Linked DNA regions of Homo sapiens: all the other regions are linked to region 4. The links are contacts of gene promoters, found by promoter capture Hi-C in blood cells and fetal thymus (Javierre and others, 2016). All regions are on one chromosome and are shown on one strand. The core of a region is centred on a gene start or on the middle of the fragment in contact, and the rest is flanking DNA. Distances in the headings are between cores, read along the strand shown. Region 1 overlaps NHEJ1 (non-homologous end joining factor 1). Region 2 holds the start of CFAP65 (cilia and flagella associated protein 65). Region 3 holds the start of IHH (Indian hedgehog signaling molecule). Region 4 holds the start of RESP18 (regulated endocrine specific protein 18).

What was found. The method cuts DNA at HindIII sites, captures the fragments that hold promoters and counts their contacts. A CHiCAGO score of 5 or more calls a contact.
Region 1: a fragment that was not itself captured here is called in contact with the fragment with the promoter of RESP18 in region 4 in 3 of 17 cell types (erythroblasts, neutrophils and megakaryocytes); the score reaches 6.6 in erythroblasts.
Region 2: the fragment with the promoter of CFAP65 here is called in contact with the fragment with the promoter of RESP18 in region 4 in 16 of 17 cell types (erythroblasts, M2 macrophages, M0 macrophages and 13 more); the score reaches 15.0 in erythroblasts.
Region 3: a contact is called between a fragment that was not itself captured here and the fragment with the promoter of RESP18 in region 4, in 5 of 17 cell types (naive CD4 T cells, erythroblasts, megakaryocytes and 2 more). The highest score is 6.7, in naive CD4 T cells.

What each region holds. Positions count from the first base shown.
Region 1 is chr2:219,073,477-219,076,641 of GRCh38, forward strand. It overlaps NHEJ1 (non-homologous end joining factor 1), which reads right to left. Exons shown (of 8, transcript NM_024782.3): 8 at 1-2,979. The coding sequence ends at 2,905. Among named protein-coding and RNA genes, the nearest start is that of IHH, 14 kb to the left of the region's middle. The HindIII fragment of the contact is 1,940 bases long and covers 896-2,835 here.
Region 2 is chr2:219,039,411-219,042,990 of GRCh38, forward strand. CFAP65 (cilia and flagella associated protein 65) reads right to left here and starts at 2,106. Exons shown (of 35, transcript NM_194302.4): 1 at 2,078-2,106; 2 at 1,109-1,154. The HindIII fragment of the contact is 30,940 bases long and covers 1-3,580 here.
Region 3 is chr2:219,057,439-219,060,990 of GRCh38, forward strand. IHH (Indian hedgehog signaling molecule) reads right to left here and starts at 3,483. Exons shown (of 3, transcript NM_002181.4): 1 at 2,715-3,483; 2 at 1-256. The coding sequence starts at 3,029. MIR3131 (microRNA 3131) reads right to left here and starts at 1,312; the gene lies at 1,250-1,312. The HindIII fragment of the contact is 817 bases long and covers 1,096-1,912 here.
Region 4 is chr2:219,331,385-219,334,479 of GRCh38, forward strand. RESP18 (regulated endocrine specific protein 18) reads right to left here and starts at 1,360. Exons shown (of 6, transcript NM_001441699.1): 1 at 1,140-1,360. The coding sequence starts at 1,245. The HindIII fragment of the contact is 5,862 bases long and covers 1-2,234 here.

The sequences.
Region 1 (3,165 bases), core at 616-3,115, 260 kb before region 4:
GAGTGGAAAGGGATGAGGCTTTCTCTCCAAGCAGGGAGCATGCCTGTCCTAGCTAACTATGGGGGACCAGCCGGCAAGGCCAAGTAGGCCTTGCAATCTAGGTGGCGCTATTTCTCTACTTTTTAGGTCAAGTTCCTGCAGGAACTTCCTCGAGGTCCCAAGTCCTGCTCCTGGTTTGCTGGCTTGCTCGTGTAAACCACCTTATATTATTTTTTTTTCTAAAAATACTCCAAAGCAATTGAAAGAGTCCCTTCTCCCACCAGCCAGCCCTGGCCCCAGCCCCAGCCCCGGGGAGCGGGCGGGTAGGCGGGGAGGTGGGCCACTGCTTTATTAAACACAGGGAAAACTAATATTTACGGAATAAAATTTATGGAGCAGCCACGAGAATTCGACCCTTTTATGTGCATGTAGAGTGGGGGTTGGGCCAGGCTGGGGGCCTCAGGGAGGGGCCCAAGCCAGGGGGCAGGGCTGGAATACAGCCTGGCTAGGCCAATTTGTCAAAGCAGGGATTTCCCTGGAGTTGCCTTAGGATGAATGATTCTCAACCACTACCCCTAGCTTTGCGGGGTAAGGGCTTCGGGGCAAGAATGCCTGTGGCAGGGCCTCTGGTAGCAATGTTTCTCTAACAACGTATTTAAGCAATACCCCAATGGAGACAGCAACCTTTGGGGATGATGGGGGCAGTGGATGGAAGGTTACTAGCTATATTCTTACTTAACCTTTTTAGAAAGTCACACATTCTTTTTGAGAACATCAACAAAATTTTGCTCTTAAGATTTTACCTACAATTTTGAGGGATTCACAGGCCTCTGGCCCCGCTGTGATGAAAAATGTCTTGAGTCTGTGCTGTTACAGTACAGGGAATGCCCAGGGTGAAGAACCGGTATTTTCTCCAAGCTTGCAGGGGAAGCCTTTCCATTTTCCATGTGCCTTGTAGATACTGAAATCTGACTATCTAAATTATGCTGAAAAGAAACGAAAGATCGGCCAGGCACAGTGGCTCAAACGTGTAATCCCAGCACTTTGGGAGGCCGAGGCAGGTAGATCACCTGAGGTCAGGAGTTCGAGACCAGCCTAGCCAACATGGTGAAACCCTGTCTCTACAAAAAATACAAAAATTAGCCGGGCTTGGTGGCAGGCATCTAATCCCAGCTACTCGGGAGGCTGAGGCAGGAGAATCACTTGAACACAGGAGGTGGAGTTTGCAGTGAGCCAAAATTGTGCGATTGTACTCCAGCCTAGGCAACAAGAGCAAGACTCCATTAAAAAAAAAAAAAAGTAACAAAAGAGCAAAGTAAGCCAGCTGATAGGCTGTTTTTATATAGTTCCCAATTCACTTCGATGACAGTCACTACCACACAGCACACTCTAGGGTCCTGTGGTCTGGGGGTAAAGAAAAGTTATCAGCAGTGACTGGGAATGAGCCTTGGTGGAGATCTCAGACTCTGCTAGCAGGAAAAAGCATGAGGGTAAGTCCTGGAGTCCTCAAGAGCTCCTTCCTTGAAGAGCCCCTGGGGAGCAGACATCCTATTGAAAAGAGGCAAGGTCATGGGATAAGGAGGTTTACAGTGGGAGACTGGAAAGAAGAACCTAATGTCCTTTCTGGAAAATAAATGTTTTCATTAGTGTATATAATAATGCTGTTAAGAACTCAGCTGTCTGGGCTTAAATTCTGGCTGTCACTTATTAGCTGTATGACCTTTGATAAGTCACTTACTCACTTCAGGATCCAATTTCTTAATGGGTTAACAGCATCTTCCTCATATGATGCTATGAGGATCAATGTCAAGTGCTCATTAGAGTAGCTGGTATACATTAACTGCTCAATAAATGTTAGCTATTTATTATTGTTGTTCTTATTATAATTATTTTATTATTGTTTGATCATCTTCTCTCGAGACTTGACATCAGGACAGAAACGCCAGTATATATACAGGATATTTGAATAAGGAGGCATTTAACCATCGAAAGTAAATAAACCAGAAATTGGATAGGCGTGGTAGCTCATGCCTGTAATCCCAGCACTTTGGGAGGTTGAGGTGGGCAGATCACTAGAGTCCAGGAGTTCAAGACCAGCCTGGGCAACATGGCAAAGCCTTGTCTCCACACACAAAAAAATACAAAAATTAGCTAGGTGTGGTGGTGTGTGCCTTTAGTCCCAGTTATGCAGAAGGATGAGGCGGGAGGATTGATAAACTACCCCACGTGGTAGTTTAACCTGTTGCCTATACTTTGGAAACAAAGAGAAAAATGCATCCAAGTTTGGCAAAGGAAAGCAGCAATCACCTATCTGTCTTGTGCCCACCATCAAGAGAGTTCTTGAGATCAAAGTTTCCAAATGGAGACTTAGCTCTGGCAACTGCAGAAAAGTTTACGAAGAATCTGAAGGACCAGACTGATGGCTAGACTTCATCCAGAGACAACAATGGGGTGGGACCCAGTGAAGGAAGTGAATTGGGTTATGAGTTCCACAGCATAAGTAATCCCAAAAGCAGGGACTGTGAGTGCTTTTTATTCCATGCAAAAGAGAGAAGTGGGTCTCTGAGGAGTATCTGGGGCTGGCTGGCTAGAGACGCTAGGGAAAGGTAGACAAGGCTTCCTGAGTGTGTGGTGCTTTCTTGCTGACTTGCCCTATATACCTAAAGTCCATGGTAGAAACCTGAACCTACAGAACCTCCACCAAAAGAGAGGAGAGCACGGGATTCTCAGAGACTGGCTTCCACTTGAACAGGGAAGGCCAATTCCCTGTGGGCCTGTCAACATCAACTTCAGTTCTCTCGCCCTTACAGGAGGCCTCTGACTGTATCACTATTTTAGAAATATTGCTGCCATGTAAGCTTCTTTCAAGGTGAAGCTTGGAAGCTGTTCTCCAAGTCCATCCTCAGCAGCTGAGGCCACAACAGATTAACTGAAGAGACCCCTTGGCTTCTTCCTCTTGACCTTTGACAGCTGAGGTCTCTGCAGAGGGCCTGAAGTACCCTAGAAAAAAGGGAACCCAAGTTAGTAGGGGTTTTGAAATAGTTCCACTGAAATTAGGAAAGGAACTTTCTTCCTCTCATGGCTCCTGGTTAGGATGAGGCCTTTTTTTTTTTTTTTTTTTTTTTCCACCCAGGCTGGAGTACATGGGCACAATCAGAGCTCACTGCAGCCTTGAACTCCTGGGCT
Region 2 (3,580 bases), core at 856-3,355, 290 kb before region 4:
ACCAAGACTAAGCCAGCCCCACTCAGGCACATGTGGAAGTGGTTTGCAGATCCCTATAATGACTTACCTCAAATGGTTCATCTCTGATTTCCCTTTACACTTGACATGAAGCCATCATGCATGAAATCATAGAACATGGCACTGCCCCCCAAAATATAATGCAATCCACATGTGTACTTTAAAACATTCTGGTAGCCACATTAAAAAAGTAAAAAGACACAGGTAAAATTAATTATAATGATATATTTTATTTAACCCATCATATCAAAAATACTACATTGAATATGTAATCGATATGAAATTATTGAGGTACTTTACTTTCTTATTTTGTATTAAGACTTTGAAATCTGGTGTGCATTTTACATTTACAGCACATCTCAATTTGGACTACCCATATTTTCAGTGCTGAATAGCTACATATGGCTATTGGCTACCACATTGGACAGCATCACTTTAATACCTTTTTTGAACATATGTTTATTTTTCAGACTACTCAGTATCCTCCCTCACTTCTTCAAATAACAATCTCAAAAATAATAATGTCTATTAACATGTACTGAGAATCCACGTGCCAGGCAGTGTTGTAAAGTCCTTAGAGGGATTTTATTTATTTATTTATTTATTTATTTATTTATTTATTTAAGACAGACTCTCATTCTGTTGCCCAGGCTGGAGTGCAGTGGCAAGATCTTGGCTCACTGCAACCTCCACCTCCCAGGTTCAAGCAATTCTCCCTTACAGGTATTTTAATTCTTACAACAGTTTATGATTACGTGTGACTTGCCCATTTATTTGGCCTAAAATGATCCTTTTTCAAGTTTGTCGTTTAGTTCCTTATTTTAATGTGTTCAGATTTAGCAAACAATTTCATGATCACCCTTTAGGAATTTATACAGTTCCATCAGACACTCTCTTATCCCTCCCCCACCACCCACCAACACCCTTCCAAAGCGGAAGATTCTGTTGACCCTGGTTTTCCTAGTTGGCAACATGTCTAAACCCTCTGGAGGGGACTATCTAGATTCAGTCGTTCGTTCATTCACAAAGCACTTACTATTATGTACCAGGTACTGTGCTAGGCACCAGACAAGGCAGGCAAGGCTCCTACCTCCAATTGTGAACTGGACGTTCAGATGAAATCAAAGAAATGTAAGCTGAGGAGACACAGAGAGAGTCCATTACTTTTCTGCCACGGGATGGTCTTGCAGCCCTGTCCTGACTCATTAATGCCTCTGACCTCAGGGGACTGTACAGACAGCTCCTGCCTCAGAGCTCTGAAAAAGTCTCCACTCAACACATGAAACTATTCCAGAGAGTGCATGGAAGAGATGAGAGATGATGGGGTAGAAAGCTGGTCCAACACAGGTCATAGGGCTAGGGAAGTGGTCCCAGGGCAAGGGACGCTGGGTGCCAGCATCTTCTCAGACTCTACGGGGATAGGCAAATTTCTCCATCTCCCGGAGCCTCAGCCTCCTCGCCTGTAAAATGTGGGTTATCCTGACGATTTCACAAAGTCGATGTGCAGCTCGAATGAAACAGAGGATTTGAAAAAGCACTAAACAAACACGTTATAGTAATTAACAACCATAACTTTCCCACTAGCCTGCACTATTCTTCCAAAAGACTCACACATCTGCAGTCGTTGTGAAGAGACTGGGCAAGCGAGGTTTTTTGTTTTGTTTTGGATTTGTTTTGTTTTAAATTGAAGTTTCCAATTTCGAGGACTTTAAAAAATATATATCATGAGCTTCCTTTATTTGCCTAATTGCTGATCTAAAAATCTCCAAGATGACCACTAGAAAAAGTGGCAGGTCGTCGTATAGAGTCGAGGGAGAAAGAAATAGATGAAACAAAGGGGGACAAAATACACTTAGAGCTGTTTCTTCTTTCTCTTCGGGATCCTTAGTCTGATTGATCTCGCCCAAGACTCAGTCCCATGGGGCTCTCTGAAGGGCATGGAGGGGACCTCTGGCCACGATTTCCCGAAGGATAGGGTCTCCCGGGACAGATACCTTCCCTGGCCACTCGCGCCGCTCCCTGAGACCCTGGGACCTTGGGACTAACGCTCAGAACTTACATCGCCTCCATATTGCCGTCTCCATAGATACAGGACGCGCAGGAAACGGCGTCTTCAGATATCCCAGGGCAACGACGGCAGCCCGAGTAAGTCAAGATTCGTAGAAGGCGAAGGCACCGCCCAATTTTATTTCCTATATTCAGTTTTGATTCCCTGACTTTTCCTGCTGGTAGTAACTGTGGGCTTCTACCTGTCGCGACATGGTAATGTAGAGCCTCCTAGTTGTCGTGACGTTCCAGCAATCATGACTTTAATTGACGACCAAATTCACAGGAAGCTACTCTGTGGGCTTGGCACTCTGACATGCATAGAGACAGAAGCTCATTCTCTGTGATTGCAATTGTTAACTTAAAAGCAGCCCGCAGTTATTTCTTATTTGAATATTGCTTTGCAAATAGAACCCTTTTGCTGATGAGAGGGAATGCGTCCTCTGCGTTTTCTCCCGGCATTTCTTCTTGGTCAGCAACAAGAAAAATAACTCTTTTGAAGGGATCGGAAGGTTAATGTATAAAGGAATTATTATACATAATGTAGACTTTCGGAAGCCCATTGGTTCATTTGTTGGTATGTGTGTTGGAGGAAGGGTCCTATTTTGTGAAGACTCCTTAGTAGGTGAAGCTGAAAGTCTCAAAGTTCACTCTTGGGTAACTAAGGATGTTTTGCTCCTCAAGACAGTGAACCTATTTCCTTTCAGATGGAAGGGGGGATGTGACTAGGGGGAGAGAGCTTAGTGAGTCTAGGGGTAAACACAGAAAATAAGCTATCATTTTGGGAGAGTTGGAGTTGACTTGTGAAAGGTGAAAGATGGACTGAGATGGCAAAGTGGCCTGAGCTGGCCTGGGAGATCACATGGCCAGAGACTGGCAGGGCTGGAGGGAAGGGGCAGGCAGGGCGCCTGGTAAATTACGCCAGCAGGATCAAGAGTTTTCCGGGAATCAAAGAATGTGGAACTCAGTGAGCTTTTCCCTGGATTTAATGGGATTCTCAGAATCTGAAACCTGCACTTTGGACATGACGACTTTTATGCTGTTTGTAGTTTCTATAATTATTTCCTTTTTGTTTTTCCCCAAATTCTTTTTGAAATGGTCAGCCTAACTCAGCTGGACCTTAAGGACAAGGAAAGGAACTGGTTCATTCTTAGGCGAAAATGAAATAGGGACTTTGGGGGCAGGGTTTGGTGTTGGCCCCAGGAATCTCAGTGGGAAAACTCCAAGGAGGAAGCACAGCTCATGCTAAAGGCGTCCTCGTGCCTCTTCACCGGGGAGTCTCCTTCCTGAGCTCTTGCCTGCTCAATGGTGGATTCTGGGTTTGGAAAAATTAAAGGGAATGGTTCCTCCTCTTAGCAGGGCCCCTGTAGCCTCTGCTTCTGTAAGCGTCTAGCTGCCTCCTAGAAGCCCTGATGCCTAGTGACCACAGCTGACATCAGTGGACTCCCAGGGAGAAGCCTGTGTGCTGGACTTTGCCCAGGGAGGCACACACATGGAAAGAGCCTTCACAAGGGAT
Region 3 (3,552 bases), core at 254-2,753, 270 kb before region 4:
TGACGGAGCAATGCACGTGGGCCTTTGACTCGTAATACACCCAGTCAAAGCCGGCCTCCACTGCCAAGCGCGCCAGCAGTCCATACTTATTGCGGTCGCGGTCTGATGTGGTGATGTCCACCGCGCGGCCCTCATAATGCAGGGACTCCTCTGAGTGGTGGCCGTCCTCGTCCCAGCCCTCGGTCACCCGCAGCTTCACACCGGGCCACTGGTTCATCACCGAGATAGCCAGCGAGTTCAGGCGGTCCTTGCAGCGCTGGGAGAGGAATGTGCGCGAAATCAACCAGAGCGAAATCAGCCGGAGGAGCCGGCCGAGGTGCAGGTGTAGGCGCAGCCTCGCCCAGAACTCTCCCGCCACACCCAAGGGAGCTGGAAGCCCGGGAGGGTGCTGTCCCTCTCCCTTAGGAACAGAGGGCCCTGAAGTGCTCCCTCCCTAGCATACAGCCGCCCCCGGGGATCTGGACCGCACGGCGGTATCACAAATCTGGAGGAGGCATGGAGGCAAGCGCCCTGGCGGCGCCTTCACTGGTAGGTGGAGGTCCCCTCTCTCCTGTGCTGTCTTCAGCTCCGGGTATCCATCCCTCCACAGACAGGACTACACCTTTCAGCGCCCGGTCCCTCTGTGCCTCCAAGGCAGGAGGGCCAGCCAGCGGCCGGGAGGGAGGAGTGGCAGCAGAGCCGACTGCCTGCGGCCGGCCTGCGAGGCGTGCAAGGCCCGAGGTGCCCAGTAGGTGTCACCGCAGCCTCAGGGCTGAGGCCTGGGGACGACAGGCTCTGGAGGCGCGGCAGGTGCAGAGCGTCTCGGTAGCTTCAGGGGGTGTGTTGGAGGGGAATCGCCGGCCTGCCTGGATCCCTCGAGCACCACCGAGGATTCCCGCCGGGACCCTCTTATAATCTTAAACCGGCCCACAACCCCGCCAGAGATGACAGGGCCAGGGAACCAGAAACCGGCGGATTAGCGCCAGGGCCGCCCAATGGGGGGCCACATGCAACGTCTTCCTCTGCAAGGCGCAAAAGGGGCTGACAATCCCAGACCTCCAGGACCTCTGCACCGGTGCCCCGCCCCTATACCGTAGGAAGGAACTCCATAAACCAAGCTTCTGATCTCAGGGAGCCAGCTCCACCATCCTCCTCACGTGGAGTTGGGGTAGAGCCGCGCCCTGGGGGAAGGACCGAAGCGGTCATCCTTGGTTGCTGCCTCCTGGTGTGCCTGGGTCCTGAGAGCCCAAGAGACTGTGCAGCTGACTCTGAGAAGAAGCTGGGGCCAGGGCCTTGGTCTGAGGGGAAAGGCCCTTCCACCAGTCCTCGACTCTGAGACTCTGAGATTCGAGGCGCCAACAAGTGTGGGCAGCCCAAGTCTCAACCTACCCCCACCCTGCAGAGCCCGGGCCTCACAGACCCTTGGACTCAGCCTTCCTAGGAGCCAATAGCAGCTACAACCCAGGGCCTCGCAGGTCCTCGCTGGTGCACAGCCTGGCTGGGGGTGCTTACTGCCCAGGGAGGGAGCTCCGCTTGCTCCTTCGTAGACCCTGCCGTCAGGCTTCTAGCCCCGCACCTATGCCCGCCTGCAGCCCTGGTTCCCCGCCTCTCTCCCTCACTGCCACCGCCCCCTCTCGGGTCCAGAGCCCGGGCGTGCGCTGTCAATGATTGCCCAGCCCGTGGCCCGGATCCTTATCTGCATTCCTCGGCGCCCGGCCCGGCCCGGCCACCAGCCAACCTTCGGCCCCGACACTGGCCGGCCAGCCCCGGCGCCAGGGTGCATGCTGAGGGCCCTGAGTCTAGCTGCTCTTCCCAACGGATCTAGAAAGCCAGGGGCCTGCTTTCAGGGGGAAGCCTCGGGAGACCCCGAAGGAAGGGGGTGAAGGTCTCTCCCCTCGCGGACCTGGCTGCTGGGAAGGAATTTGCGCCTCTAAGCTTGGGTGGAGCGCGGGTCCTACTCCAGCATGCAGAGACTAGCGTCAGCCCTGGTCCCTGCCTCCCTCGGCATCTCAGCCCCTCTTTTCCACTCCTTCCCGTCCCCACCACCAAGCCCAGGAATCCCCTAAGCTCAGTCCCAGAGCCCGAAGGCCCCAATAACCCACCCTTCCACCGCAGTAGCACCCCTCAGCTCTCCGGACAGACACGTGGGCTCGCTGGGCAGGTTCCTTTTCCCACCTCCGCCTCCCGATTCAACTCTTCCTCGCTGTTCTTAACCCCAGACCCAGCCGGGACGCTGCTCCTGGAAGGGGCAGCCCGTAGAACCAAGAGCGCACAGGGAGGAAAGGCCGTGGTGACCCTACGCACCCAGAGATTCTTTGCCTCAGGGGTGCCGAAAAGTTTCAAAATGAAAGGGGCACAGCTGTGCAGAAGGTTAGGCCGGGAGGGACTGCGTGGGTCCTGGAGGCGCAGGAGGCAGCCGGGTAGAGGTACCTCCGGGTGCAGCGTCTGGCTGAGCTGCCAGTACTTTGGGGCAGAGGAGCCGCCGCCAACCTGCTGGGCTGTGGGGCTTGGCAGCGGGGAGCTCTTCTAGCAGTCTCCTCCGGGCTTGGGGATGCCGACACTCCTGCCTGGACCCCTGGCCAGCCCATCTTGGGCAGGAGGCAGCGGGGCTTGGCGAGAGGGGCAGGTGCCAGGGAGCGTGCCAGCCAGTCGAGAAAATGTGCCAGGGGGTGGGTAGGGCCGGGCAGGTGGCCGTGCTTCGGTGGCGGCGCGCTGGTAGGGCGGATCGCGCTCACCTGGGTCATGAGGCGGTCGGCGCCTGTGTTCTCCTCGTCCTTGAAGATGATGTCTGGATTGTAATTGGGGGTGAGCTCCTTGAAGCGCTCGGAGCTGCGAGCGATCTTGCCTTCATAGCGTCCGCTGGCGCCCAGGGTCTTCTCGGGCACATTGGGGCTGAACTGCTTGTAGGCGAGCGGCACGAGTTTGCGTGGCGGTCGCCGGCGGCTGCCCACCACCCGACCCGGCCCGCAGCCCCATGCCGCCGGCACCACCAGCAGCAGCAACAGGACCAGGCAGAAGTGCAGTCGGGGCCGGAGCCGGGCGGGAGACATGGCCGGGGAGCCCGGGGGAGCGGCGGGCGAGGTCTCCTGGTGGGCTGATGGGCAGGCGCGTCGACGGGAGCGCTGCGGGGGCTCAGGCGTCCGGGTGGCTCCGGGGGGCTCCAGGCGGGGGCGCCATGGGCGGCGTGGTGCGGCCAGGGCCGGCGGGACTCAAGTGCGGGGCGGGGGCCCAGGGCCCGAGCTGGTGGCGGCGCGCTGTCCCCCTCGGCGCCTCGACTCTGAGCTGCCGGGCTCGCCGGCCGCCAATAAATAGGCCGGCCCGTTTGTTTTGGCAACGCGGCGGCGGCGGGGGGCGGCGGGCGGCGGGGCTGCGGGCCGCCGGGCTGGGCTGGGCTGGCCGGGCCGGCGGGCTGCAGGGCCCCGCGGTTAGCACCCCGGCCCGGCGGTCAGGCGGCTCGGGCGGAGCGGGAGCTGCTGCCGTCTGCGGCGCAGCCCGGGGCCGAGTGAGAGGGGAAATGGAAGAGATCCGGGCTCGGGCCCCGCGCAGACCGCACCCTACCCATGTCCCTGCCTC
Region 4 (3,095 bases), core at 110-2,609:
CCCTAATGCTATGCACACCTTCCTTCTTCCAGATCAGTGAGATAGGGCTGGAGGACAGTCTGTTTTTTGCTATAGTGTAGTTACCATGAGCCATTCTGGACAGGTCTTTAGAAAAGGGAATTCTCCTACCCAGTCAAATGGATGTCTAATAATTTCCTGGGGGTAAGCGTGACAAAGTTTTAAGTAGAGACATTTGGGGATGAGAAAGCCTCCTTAAGGAAGTAGTGGAACCTCCAACACCCTGAGGAGAAGGGAAAGAGCTTCGGGAAGGGGAGCTGATTCTCTGAGGCAGCGTTCCCAGGACTGGTGGGAAGGAGTGGTGACCCGCTCGGGCTCGGCGTGGACCCGGAGCGCGCCTGGCGCTGTCCGTGGTGCTGAGAGGTGGGGAGGCCAGCGTGGCGGCGGCGCTGGGCGGAATGTGGGCGAGACATCTCCGCAAGGCTTGGCGGTCCTTCCCCACGGCCCTCATCCTCTCATTGCCACCAGGCCTCCTCCCACAGCTGTTCCTGAATCCGCTGCATTGGCCTCTAAAACCAAAAATCAGGGAGAGGGGGCGACAGACTAGGAGTTTGCGCTCTCTTCCCCATGCGCTCTGCGCAGGAGTTCTCGAGTGTGCGCAGTCTGGCACGTGAGTCAGCGCGGGGTCTACGCGGATTGGTGCGGGGGAAGGGGAGAAGGATGGTCCCATTCCCCCTCCATCCTGCTTTCCCTCAGCGGTCCCCTTATTGGAAACCGGATCACAGCACGAGGAAGCCCTGGCTCGTCTCCTGGCCCAGCCTTCTCCCTGGAGCCAAGACCCCGATACCCGCAGCCCTGGTCAACTCTTTTTCTGGCCTTTCTTGCTTCTCCTGTGGCCACATAGGCCAGTTTTACCTCTCTCTGTTCATTTGTCTTTCTGACCTCTTCCCAAATCCCCAATTTTCACCTGAACCCACTTCTCGTGAGTCCAGACCCCATATGCCCAGCCTATCTGAAGCCTATGCCTCTTTCCGCTAGACGCTGTCTACCTTTTTCTCTTCTCACGTCCTTAAGCACATTCTTTTACTTCCAAGTTTCCTAGCCTTGAGGCCCCCTGCAGACCCCCACTTCTCAGGATCGCTTTCTTGGCCCTGCCCGCACCCCCCAGGGTTCCTCCTGACCGTGGGCACTAGTGTCGCTGCAGCCCCCCGGGCAGCTGTTCAGCAGCAGGAAGCAGACAAGCAGCTGGAGCCCCTCGGAGCTCCCAGGCCACAGTGGGTGCTGTATCCTCCCAGGCTCGGCGCGCTCACTCCCCGGCCAAGTCTCAGTGAAGGTAGCGGCCACGGCCGAGGGGCTGAGCGGGGCTGCAGCTTCCCACCAGCCCGCGACTCCGAATCTGTTTAACCCTCCTCGGCAGTTCAGCCAATCGTGAGCGGGCCCTGCCCCTGCGGTCGCCTCCCCAGCTCCTTCCCCTACCGCCTCCCCACCCTCATCTCTTGGAATTCCTGACCCGGCTCCTTTCGGGCATTAGCTGGGTCCCAAGAACCACCGCCTGTACTCCCAGTCCTAAGGCTGCAGAAACGGATGGCACGTAAGATACGGGTGCAAGTTGTACCTACTCAGGTTTGTTGTGAGAATCAAATATGAACAGCGATGAAACAGTAGGCACTCAAGGAATTTAGTTTATTTTATTATCCTTGACACTCTTTACTCTGGCCCACTTAAAACCCTTTAGAAATCATATAGGTTCGATCTGCTATATATATATATATAATATTATATATTATATATTATATATGGCACATCCATCCACTTTACTCCACATCCACTGCCATCGCCTTGGTCCAAACCACTGCACACTGTACTTTTTTTTTTTTTTTTTTTTGAGACAGTCTTGCAATTTCAGATCACCACAACCTCCGCTCGACCTCTACTCAACCTCAGGCTCCAGAGTAGCTGGGACTACAGGTGCACACTACCATGCCCAGCCAATTTTATTTATTTATTTATTTATTTTTGTAGAGACAGGGTTTTGCCATGTTTCCCAGGCTGATCTCAAACTCCTAGGCTCAAGCAATCCTCCCACCTTGGCCCCCCAAAGTGTTGGCATTACTGGCATGAGCCACCATGCCAGGCCTTGGACACTGTACTCTTTTAAATTGAGTTGTTGTAGTAACTAACTAGCTAACTGACCTCTTGCTTTCACTCTTGTGTACTTACAAGCTAGTTTGTGAGCTTTCTAACTCTTAGACTGGCATTTAAATTTTTTTTCATTAAGCTTAAAACATTTATTAAACTGGGCATGGTGGCTCATGCTTGTAATCTCAGCACTTTGGGAGGTCGAGATAGTGGATTACTTAAACCTAAGGGTTTGTATAGTGAACATTTGGGGTTGATACATTACAAAGGATCTGAATTATATTATTATCTTTAAAGGGTAATAGTTTGAGTTTGTTCTGGCAGGCAATTAAATTTTTGGTAAAAAGTCTTGATCCTGTGGCAGTCTGGTTAGGGAAGGAGTACTTCATCCTATTCTCAATTCTAGCCTGTATCTCTTAGTCCTGGGATATGGTGCTTATGGCTAAGGTGTGGTCCTTTTTGGATTTCAACATAACCCAAAGTCATTTACCAAAACTCTCTATTTTACGGGTCCTGAACTCCAAACTCAGTCACCCTAACACTGTGACAGCTGCCAAAATCTCTGTTCAGATATTTGACTTTTTCACTAGGTTCCTTGAAATCTCACCCTGCGCAAGTGCCATTTAGAAGATAGCTAAGAATTGGAGGGGAGTTAGGATGCAGATTTTGAGTTCCTCTCTCTGTAATTTATTCATTTTCTAAATTTCTTCCTCAATTTCCAGATGCTCTGGCATCTCTGTACTCCAAAAGCTGTTTCCTTAGTAAGACTGCCAGTTGCTGACAGAGCTGTTTCCCTGTGTACTGCAGTGAACTCTGAAGTATCTTCAGAGGAAAAGCCTATACATGTATAAGTCACTTGGTGGACTTCCTTTTTTTGAGGACTATACTCCCTGTAGGTTTCTAACTCTTGATCAGTCTCCATGCTTTCATACAGTTATTTTTATATTTTGCCTAGAGTATATACCCAATGTTAGGAGGATCCGACACAAGTTTCTGTC